3 separate regions of the Homo sapiens genome follow, and all the other regions are linked to region 2. The links are contacts of gene promoters, found by promoter capture Hi-C in blood cells and fetal thymus (Javierre and others, 2016). All regions are on one chromosome and are shown on one strand. Each heading gives the region's core, a stretch centred on a gene start or on the middle of the fragment in contact. The rest is flanking DNA. Distances are from core to core; before and after follow the strand shown.

The links. The method cuts DNA at HindIII sites, captures the fragments that hold promoters and counts their contacts. A CHiCAGO score of 5 or more calls a contact.
Region 1: a contact is called between the fragment with the promoter of FAM241A here and the fragment with the promoter of PAPSS1 in region 2, in 5 of 17 cell types (naive CD8 T cells, non-activated CD4 T cells, activated CD4 T cells and 2 more). The highest score is 6.5, in naive CD8 T cells.
Region 3: the fragment with the promoter of AP1AR here is called in contact with the fragment with the promoter of PAPSS1 in region 2 in 2 of 17 cell types (naive CD8 T cells and total CD8 T cells); the score reaches 7.0 in naive CD8 T cells.

What each region holds. Positions count from the first base shown.
Region 1 is chr4:112,143,998-112,147,479 of GRCh38, forward strand. FAM241A (family with sequence similarity 241 member A) reads left to right here and starts at 1,457. Exons shown (of 2, transcript NM_152400.3): 1 at 1,457-1,736. The coding sequence starts at 1,584. RefSeq lists a silencer at 1,238-1,887 and an enhancer at 2,228-2,367. The HindIII fragment of the contact is 3,530 bases long and covers 1-2,316 here.
Region 2 is chr4:107,717,954-107,721,567 of GRCh38, forward strand. PAPSS1 (3'-phosphoadenosine 5'-phosphosulfate synthase 1) reads right to left here and starts at 2,281. Exons shown (of 12, transcript NM_005443.5): 1 at 2,167-2,281. The coding sequence starts at 2,226. RefSeq lists enhancers at 1,534-1,593, 3,584-3,614 and a silencer at 2,224-2,473. The HindIII fragment of the contact is 5,198 bases long and covers 1-3,614 here.
Region 3 is chr4:112,230,325-112,233,923 of GRCh38, forward strand. AP1AR (adaptor related protein complex 1 associated regulatory protein) reads left to right here and starts at 1,463. Exons shown (of 10, transcript NM_018569.6): 1 at 1,463-1,850. The coding sequence starts at 1,768. AP1AR-DT (AP1AR divergent transcript) reads right to left here and starts at 1,826. Exons shown (of 1, transcript NR_186684.1): 1 at 1-1,826. RefSeq lists enhancers at 1,236-2,183, 2,208-2,257 and silencers at 1,288-1,567, 1,728-1,997. The HindIII fragment of the contact is 11,290 bases long and covers 1-3,599 here.

The DNA.
Region 1 (3,482 bases), core at 207-2,706, 4.4 Mb after region 2:
AATCTCCTGACTACAAAAAACAGGAAACTTCTTTAAAATAAGCCTATGAGATTCTGCCTATTTTAATTCCTTCTCTGGGCCTGAAAACATTTTAATAGAAGATCCCAAATAACTCTTACTCTTCTCCATGTGTACACATGTTTACTTTCCATATTTACTTTTCTGTATTTTACCTGTACAATAACCCATCGTTTTCCCAATGTACAGATAAGGCATACACAGAAAAAAAAGTGATATTTTATTTAAACACCCTTCCATTTTCCTTGAATAAAATGGATGGAGTAGTACAAAAAATAATTATCAATTGGATATATTCCCCTCACCACCCACTGAGAAAGACATATTCTTACCCAGTTACAGAAAGATACATCATTTGATACACCATCAAACGACCCAAGGCTCCAACAAACAACACACACTAGGAAGCACTCAACAGAAAGGGACAAATACACAGACCTTCAGTGAGACACTAGGAAAGGAGGCTAAAGGAACAAGAGGGACAGTGAAATGTGTCTTCCTTGAAAAGGACGGGCAGATACTCAGGCAAGAACAGGGGTACTCTGCTGGAGAGTGTAACTGGGTGCATGTGTGTGTTTCTCTCTCACATACAAACCCACACACACTAATCTCTTATACAAATGCGCTCTCTCTTAAATATATGCACTGGCTCTCTCACACAAGTAATTTCTCTTTCACACTTGATCTCTCTCAGTTTCTGTTGTTCCCTCATACAATCTCTCTCTCACAGTCTCTTGCATACACATACAATCTCAATCTCTCTCTCTCTCTCTCTCTCTCTCTCTTTCCCCCCCCCCTCCTCTCTCTCTCTCTCTCTCTCTCTGAAACGGGGTCTGGTTCTGTCGCCCACGCTGGAGTGCAGTGGTGTGATCTCTGCTCACTGCAGCCTCGACTTCCCGCGCTGAGACGATCCTCCCACCTCAGCCTCCTGAGTAGCTGGGACCACACTGCCGCCACCACGCCCGCCTAATTCTATTTTTAGTAGAGATGGGGTTGCCCAGGCTGGTCTCCAACTCCTGGGCTCAAGCTATCTGCCCGCCTCGGCCTCCCAAAGTGCATACAATCTCTTATACGCAGTTTCTTTTATATAGAATCTCTCTCACACACACACACAAATCACGCTCAGCGTCTCTCTCACACTCTCTAACGGTCTCTTACGCACACACAATATCCCTCATACATACACACAGCCTCTCTCATGTACAATCTCCCTCATGCAGTGTATGTCCATAGTTTTTCACACAACACCCTTCTTCTCTCAGTCTGTCGGCCTCTCTCTCAATCTCACACACACACCCCCGCCCCCCAACACACCGTTGGCCCCGCCCCCTGTCTTGGCCCCTCCCCTGTACGGCTCCGCCCCGACGGCCGGGGGTTGGGCGAGCCAGTGACAGGAGGGGCCGGGCTGGTACTTCAGGCGCCCAGGCCGGCGGGGCGCGCTCCGGCGGCTCCTGTCAGCGGCGGGTGCGGCGGATCCCAGGGCAGCCTTCGGGCGGCGGCGCTGCCTGGTGCGTCGCGGCGTGGTCCTCCGGCGGCTGTCCGGGGCGGTAGGAGTTGGCTGCGGGATGTGCTCAGCCGGGGAGCTGCTGCGGGGCGGCGACGGCGGGGAACGCGACGAGGACGGGGACGCGCTGGCGGAGCGGGAGGCGGCAGGGACCGGGTGGGATCCCGGGGCGAGCCCGCGGCGGCGCGGACAGCGGCCGAAGGAGAGCGAGCAGGTGAGCGCGGGGAGGGGCGGCGGCGAAGCGGCCGGGTCGGGGGCCGCGAGCCCCGCCCGGCGTTGGAGGGAAGGGGCCCGGCCCGCGGGCCGCGCCGCAGCTCTGCCCCGCGTGGGCACTGGCTCCCCGGCGCTCTGGGAAGTCGTCGCCGGGAGCGGTTAGACGGCGCTCCCAGGAGGAGCGGCGGGGTCGCGCGAGTGCAGACGCCAGCGCCGGCCCCGGGGTCGCGTGTCTGGCGGGGTCAGCGTGGTTCGTCCCCTGGCGTCCGGCAGAGGATTCTCAGGCTGGCGCCCAGGGCTCGGAGGAAATGCCCTCCATAGCGGTGATTTATTTAAAAGCCTCACTTGTAAACACTTCTTTTTCAACTTCGAGTCCGTGCCCTGCGCCAGGTTTAGGAGACGCCGGCTCCCCTCCCGCCCTCCATCTTGCGTTTCCGAGCCCACACCTAGCGTGTCTGGAAGGTGTGGGTGGATTCCGTCCACGGGCAGCGCTGAAAGCATGAGTAGGAGCGGGTGTTACAATGAATGTCTTGACAGGGACTCTCCCAGAGCACGTTCTTCATAAATACAGATGAGATCAAAGCTTCAGTTAAAAAGTGGAGAGGCAAGAATATTGCTTTCGGTTATAAGAGGCCAGCCATAGTAAGGGAAAAGAGAAGTTGCGTAATTTTTTAAACTCTCTGAGTTTATCTCATTTAAATAAAGTGTGATAATGGGCATTATAACATCAAATATCTTAAAGATTAGGCAAAAGGTTTAATTTTAAAAATTGAATTGTATGTTGGATGAATTTTCTACAGCAAATACAGTATTTAGACTTTCCAAATACCTGAGGTAAGCCGCTCTTTAGACTCACATTAAGGAGCAGGAATTCAAATGATTATTGGCCTTTATTACAGCCTGTACTGTTAGGACAATTAATACCTGTCTCTCCTCATCTTTCTTCATCTGTCCTTTCTGTCACGTTTCACAAATTCCAGTATCATCACTAAATGCATTAATAGATGTATACCTTACATTGTTTCAATAGGTTACTTAGGAAACAGAGTAATACTGTGTGGCACACAAAATATGCCTTAGCGTTAGGTTTGATCACCACGTGGAGTGTAATTTTTCATCTGTGACAATATAAGAGAAAGTGACTCAAGCAAATAATTTGGTAGCTTGTTCTTCGGATTCCCTTCCTAGTGGTTTTTCCCGTTAACTATTCATTTGCTCAAGGGCTTGATTTCCTCTAACTTAAATTGCTTAACTGGAAAAGTGAAGAAGACAGCACAAGAATTCCTTTGGGGGTGGGGAGGGGTTGCATTTGAGCAGGGGTTTCCAAAGTAAATTTTCAAATAGTTGTAAGGGAGCATATAAAAATACTTCATTTAAGCTTCTGTGTACTTCATTAGTATGATTATGTAGACATCACTAATAGTTGTGGTCTTTCCAAAATTGCTTATGGTACAAAGTAAAAGGATAAAACAAAAAATGAAAAGTACATCTTAGAAAACATATCACTTTGCATACCTGCCTCCTTCATTGAATGTCATGAAAGTTCATTCTCCTGTACTCCTTTGAAGTGTTATTTTTATCATTCTGTTTTTGCCTCAAGATTTATTAATGTATTCTAAGCCCCCATACACAATAATTGAAAATCACACCGGAGATAGGCATTTCCTACTACATTAGCACCAAAGAAGAATTAGTCAAGAAGACAAAAATAAGCAAAAAATTGGTGCAACCCAACCCATTGTTGTAA
Region 2 (3,614 bases), core at 1,031-3,530:
AGAACATAAATAGTGCTCATGTGCCAGGCAGGCTTCAAATCTATTAATTCATTTAAACCTTACTATAACCTTGTCTGGTCTCCAGGGCTTCCCCATCTGGGTCCTACCAGGGTCTACATTTCTTCAGCGGAACATTCTTCCTGGATTACCAATTTTATCCTGTGATAGGAATTTTAAAGGTATATGGGTTCTTCACACTTGTGCCTATTAAGATGATTTAAATATGAGAGAGGAAGAGATGACGGGTGTTCCATGAGGGAGAGAAAAATTTACAAGGATCAGAAAATTTAAAATTCTAGCCCCATCAAAAATCCCCCATAGAATCAAGTCTTCTCTGCAGCCAAACACAAGAGCATCACGGAGCCCCAGCCTCCCTATTGAACCTTACCTCCACTTCCCAACAAAAACTCTCCAGGGCAGTCAAACAAGTTTCGTCAATGTTTCTGGAGTAAAAAAAATAGTAATTTTTATTCCCAACACTTATCCATGCAGTTCCCCTCTGACTCAGAAATCTGAAATCCTCCATAAACCCTCCCAAAACGCCCAGGCGAAACTAATCTCTCCTCTAAATTGCAATAAAACTTCTGTCTTACGCCACTCACTCTGGACCACAAAGACATATTCACCACTTGGCAAATGTCACAACCCCAACACAAACCATGAACTACCAGAAGGCAAGCAGTAAGTCCCACATTTTTCACCACCATGTCTAGCACAAGTCTCTACATAGAATACGCACCATGTGGCAAATGTTAATAAATAAATGAGTACATAAATGGACAATGTAACAGAAATCATCTGTAAATACCCCAAGTAAGCCAACCTTATTTCCCTAACCGTGAAACACCTTAAGGTAAGAGAAGCGAAACTGAGTCTGAGTTTCAAGGCAGTGGTTTCACCGCACATTCAAATTCATGATCTGTCTTCTTTGTTCATCAAAACAATCCCGTGAAGTACATACTATTATACCCTTAAGTCAACTGAGGTTCGAAAAAGTAAAGTGACTCTCCTCAAGATCACACAGCTAGTAAATGGCAAAGCTGGGATGAGAGACCAGGCCAGGAGTCCAGCGCTCTTTCCACTGTTCTAATTCATCTTTTAAATCTCCTTCCCCTCCTTACCATCTATAGAGTTAAATAAAAGGAGAGAGGAATCAGTAAACAACTCATGATAACAATAACAACAGATGTGGTAAATTAATGACTTCCAAAGAACATTTGCCTGAAATTGCTTGTTTTTTTTTTCTTTGATTCATCTAGGGCAAGTAACGTTTTGGGAGACATTGCATTTAAACCTTATTATTCCATTGGACTGTGAAATAACGTTTCCGTCTAAACTTAAACCAGTGCCTTTCCAGACTCCAAAGATGGGCCCTTCCCTGCTGCACACTTACAAAGGAAGATAAGGCTCTTTCTCATCACAGAGAAATTAAGGAAGTAAGCAACGTTATGAGGACACAGCACTTTACAAAGTCAACTGGCAGTCATTACTAAACGTTATAAAGGACTGGTCCCATACCTGACTGTCACCAGGAATGGAGTCTTCCAAACTCCTACTTGTTAAACATTCCGATTTAACACAGAGACACAAAGAACCTCAGTTCAGGGCAGTCTCAACTCATGAATGACCACATTGTTGGGTACTCTCCTTTCACACTGAAACTCAGAAATGGAAAGACACGGAGATGGACCCAAACCTGGGCCAACCGCACTGGCAGAGCCAAGAAAAACCAAGAACGCGTCGAAGGCGCCCGCCTCCGCCTTCTCTGCACATCTTCAGGCCACTCCAAGGTATGCAGGAAGCTCCTGTTTCTGCAGCCGCAGGTTTCAGCACCCGGAGGTTTCAGCAAGCGCCAGTTCACGGGTGAAGGATTTTCCTGGGGGTCTTACCTGAGCGGAGGCGCTGGGGAGGGGGGGCGTTCTTCCCACGAACGGTGGCTCGGACCGCACGCTGCGCCAAGCTAGGGCGAGATCCCCACCCTGCGCCGCGCCCCTCTGCCTCGCAACCACCCACGGCCCCAGCCGGGAGGCGCCGCAGCCCCGGAACCCACCTCCGCGCTCCTGGAAGGATGGATGCGGAGGAGGCGGGAGAGAGGCGGCGGCTCCGGAACGAGCTGCTCCCACAGCCCCTCCGCTCCTCGCCGTCTCGCCTTCGTCCCCAGCTTACCCAGTTCTGCGCGTTATTGCTCAGTTTGACTTTCTTGCACAGGCTCCCGGGGATCTCCATGACCGCGGAGCGCGCTGAGCAGCCGGGGTTCTCTGCGCCGGGAGGGTAGCAAGAGGAGGGCAGGCCAGCGAGCGGGGCGGGGCTGGAGGGCGGGGCCTCCTCGCGTCGGAGCGGGCGCGCGCTGACTTAAGCACGCGCCCGTGCTCGTGGCCTGGGTTGCGCGGCGCATGCGGCGCGCCTCGGAAATGGGTCCGGGGCAGAGGTCTGTGGGGAAGGGCGAAACGCCGGGATAGAACCGGAGGTAGAAGCTGGGGGCGGAGCTTCAGCGCTCGCGCCGGCGCGGGCGCGCACGGCGCTCCTCCTTCCAGATCCCGATGAAGGGGCGGGGCCTGGAATGCAGTCGTGGAACCTCAGGTGCCTCTGCGGCACCGAGCCTAGCTCTGAGCTAACGCAGATCTCTAAGAGCGAGTACCAGCCGCCGGGAGAAAGGCAAGGGGAGTGCGCGGCTCGCCGCGCGCGGCACTCCCTCAGCAGAGGCTGATTGGGAGGACGCTGACGCGGCCTCTTGCACCTGTGGCTACTCCTCCACAGACCTGGCTGCCGACCTCCTGTCTGCCCCTTCTGTGCCCATGTCACCCTGGCCAAATGTTTTAAATGTTTTACAGCTTTGCAAAGGGAAGAATTGATTTACCGAACAGCTCATTCTCCACATTAAAATTCTACTCAAGACACAATTTTTTTTCTTTTTTTGAGACGGAGTCTTGCTCTGTCGCCCAGGCTGGAGTGCAGTAGTAGGATCTCGGCTCACCGCAACCTCTGCCTCCCGGGTTCAAGCGATTCTCCTGCCTCAGCCTCCCGAGTAGCTGGGACTACAGGCGTGTGCCACCACGCCCGGCTAATTTTTGTATTTTTAGTAGAGACGGGGTTTCACTATGTTGGCCAGGCTGGTCTCGAATTCCTGACCTCATGATCCGCCCGCCTCAGCTTCCCAAAGTGCTGGGATTCCAGGCGTGAGCGACAGCGCCTGGCCTCAAGACACAGTTTTTAAAAAGATATAATAAAAGCCCGATTTCTTGACATCAATAATTAATATCTCAACCTGGATTAGTGATTACTTATAAGGTGCCTCCCTCTCCGCTAGGAGACCCCACTTCGCATCAGATTTCTGTGCAGTGCTTCTTACCGACCTACACCGGAAAGGGGCTTCTGTATTATTAAGAGCTACTCAGGAAATACCTAGAGGACTGAAATCCAGGACCGGGGAGGCCGCAGGTAACCCCGAATAGAACTCCCGCCTACGGAGGACATTTTCAAATTCACCTAATTATTCCAGGGCTAGTTCGTAGGAGGATGGGCTGGGGGCATGACAGAGTTTCCTCCAGGAGTTATCTTCCCCACACCCCCCATAACTCTGAGTTCTCTTTTCCGCAGCTTGCCCCTGGCACCAA
Region 3 (3,599 bases), core at 213-2,712, 4.5 Mb after region 2:
GGATTTCCATTCCCTGACCCATGGCAATCAATTATTCTGTTGTCCACTTACATAAATTTATCAATTCTGAGATGTTACATAATGGAATTACACAGTATATAAGCATTTGAGATTGGCTTTTTCTTTAACCATAATTTCCTACAGATTCATTTCAGGGTGTGTTCATCAATACTGTGTTCCTATTTGTTACTAAATATTCCATAGGATAGATGTACCAGTTTCTGTAAACATTTATAGTTGAATTTTAATGATTATTTCATTAATACATTTGTCTAATTTCAGGGGTTGGAAGGAGAAAAGAAAATGCTTTCACTAGGAAGTCATTCGGTCATCCCAACATTCACTGAAAGCAAACCATTGGGACAAATGTTATCCTATGCTTCTGATTACAAAACAACTAAAACCCAAATAAAATAAACATTAGTAAGTAGCAGTGCTAAGATTGAAACCAGATACGTATTTAAAGAAGCAAGAAAATGAGTTCAGAGAACATTTTATCATCAATAAAAACTTTCTAAAATGTAACAATTTTTCTAGGTTTAATTAAACAGGCTAAAAACTTGATGTGTCCAGTCCATGAGAGCATCCTCCTATCCACTGGACGAGGTGTCTACTAAACCACATCTTATATCTATTGTGAGGCCAACTGTCTTGAGGCCAAACAAGACGCGAATTATATGGTAGCACTTGAGAGGGCTGCGGACACATTAGAGCAGCTTTCTCTTCCCATCTACAGCAGTTCTGGGCAGCATGCTTGGAATGGCAACGCTGACGTCCCCGAAAAACCCCAGCCCTCTTGCCAATTTCCTCTGAACCCCAACTACCCAACCCAAAATTATGTGAAGATCTGATTTTCAAACAAAACGAGGACAATAATGCACCATTATTACGTTTCCCTAAAACATTAACAGTATGGAAATTAAGACACAAACCAGAGACCGGAAAAAAATCTTGGTGCGTTCAAAGTAACCTCAATCAGTTCCCGAGTCTATTTTCCGCTTATGGTGCAGTATTAACAAAAACTAAGCACACCGTGCAGAGAAACGCCCCTTCGCACTTATGACTTCCGGCCTGGGACTCTGGCTCCTCACACGCCTTTGATACAAAGTTCGAAGGCTGAGCCTTAGCCATGCCACGCCCAGCGTGCTCCGGACGAGGATGCCCGAAACTGCAATGAGAGAGGGAAATTTCCTAGTCAGGTCAAGGTCCAACAAAACAAACGTCCGCACGCAGGAATTGAACCGTCTCGCAGGCAGAGGCGGCTGAACCAGGAGCGAGCGGAAGTGACGCACAGGCCGGTCGCCAGAGAAGGCGGGGCACCGAGGTAGCGCGCCCAATTGGGGCGCGGGAGAGGCCGGGGGTGTGGCAGCGTTGGCGGCGAGCAGGGGCCTGGGCGCGCTGGGGGCGGGGCCAGGGTGCTCGGCTCGCGGGGACTGGCCTCCTTCGGCAGCTGGAGGCGGTCACTCACGCTGGGCTAGGAGCTGAGGCGAGAAGGGCCATGCGGACGGCGAGGGAGTCCAGAGCCTTGAGCCCGGTGCTCCTCCCTCGCGCAGCGGTGGCTCTGCGGCCGCTGGAGTAAACACTGCCTTTGTTCCCTAGCGCCTCGTCTTTCGTCGCCCCGTGCCCTCACGCCGCCGGGCTCTGGCCGGCCCGCCCTCGGTCCTTGAACCCCATTTCGGCTCGTGCCGTGCGGATGCAGCTGCCGGGCCTGGGTTTGGGCATTGAGCGGGAGGAGGAGGAGGAGCGGCGGCGCCTGGGCGGCATGCGATGGGGAACTGCTGCTGGACGCAGTGCTTCGGACTGCTTCGCAAGGAAGCGGGGCGGCTGCAGCGAGTAGGCGGCGGCGGAGGGTAAGCCCGCTGGGGGAGGGGCCCGGCCCCCGTGGCTCCTCCTCTTCGGCCCCCGGCGGGGAATCCCTTTCACCGTCCCCCGGCGGCTGGAGGTGGCGGTCGAGAGCCCTGCTACACTCACTGCTTAGCAGACGTCAGACTGGTGGTCGTCTTGGAGGCCCAGTCTGGGGTCCGGTCTTGGGGCCTCCTCGGAAAGAGGTAGAAGAGGGGGCGGGGTGTCCCTCCTGCCAGGGCGCCCTGTCACGCGGGGAAGGAGTCACGGGAGACATCATCTCCAGGAAACAAGGGGTAGCTTCGCGCTAATGGGCTGTAGGACCGGCTCCACGGCAACCTGGACACACCCTGCGCTGAGCTTAGGTTTAACGCCAAAGCTAGTATCCCTGTATCTGACCCTCTCTTTAGCCCTGGCAGAGCAGGTGGGATCTGGCTCCGGAGTTAATGCCTCAGATTGATTTTAAGTAGAAGTCATTTGGATGCTGGAGTAAAATAAGGTTCCAGATACTGATGAACTCTGGTAGCTACAAAGACTTGCTGAATTGCAGAGTTCCCAATGGGCATTCAGATTCTTGGTGCTCATAACTACAGGGACAATGTGTAATTTTTTCGTATTAAGTTTTTGAAATTTCGAGAGGAATTCCTTGCCCTGATTGCTACTCAAACGTCCTGTAACATTAGGTAAATTGCAGTCCTTCTGAACTTCACTTCTCTTGAGTAAACCTGGGATATTGCTTAGGTTTTGTATATGCACCATCCACAGAATAGTAATTTCATAATTCCGTTTTTGTGTTTTTTTATTTCATATATATTGAAAAAATTAGAGCAAATTCCTTTGGGGTTGGCTTTGTTGTTATTAAATGTCCCTCCGGAATTCAAACCTAGAATTGAAAATCTGAACCAAGCCAGTTTGTGTAAGGACTAAGACTGTTTTGCACTTTCTGAAACAGATTGCTAATTTTTCATAATCTGTTCCATTTAACTAACATTATTGGGTAATAAGATGTTCAACATAAATAAATTGCAGTAAATGATCATAATTTGAATCTTTGGTAATGGAGATCTTATAAAATATAGGATTCTCATTCATTAATTAGGCATTGTGTCACCTCTCTGATACAAAATAGCTAAGGTTTTACACTAAGTATCCCTAGAATGGAAGGGCAAGGATTTGCAGTTTGTGCCTAGTGTAATATTTCGATTTCCCTAATTTATGAGTTATTACTCTTGAGTGGGACATGACAGTTGTTTTATCTTGTCATCCAGGATCATCTGGTTTAAGTATTTATAATTTTTGTGTGTGAATGAAACTTACAAGGTCAAGCTGCTTAAGTAGGCTTGCCCAATAACTAGATGCCACACAATCTTTGGCTTTTACTATTATTTGTAGTTGTGTTACAGGGCGTTAAATTCTAACTCCAAGAAAGTTGGTTGGTGAGGGAGCAGTACTTACATTCTAAATGGATAAGCAAAAAACTTTATATTTGACTTTGGACTACATGATGTGTCTGTGGACTTTAGTTTTGTTTTTTTCATGGGGTCTCCGTAGAGTACGGCATTAAAATTGTAGGTTCTACTCCCTCAGCTCGTGAGCTTGGCAGCACAGGGAGGTGGCAGGAGGAAATCCATGAATCAGCGTGAGTGTTAATTGTCTGTAGATATGCCATAAAAACATAAGCAGGTGGAGTATTTCTTTCTTTTTTTTTGAGACGGAGTCTCGCTCTGTCGCCCAGGCTGGAGTGCAGTGGCGCGCGA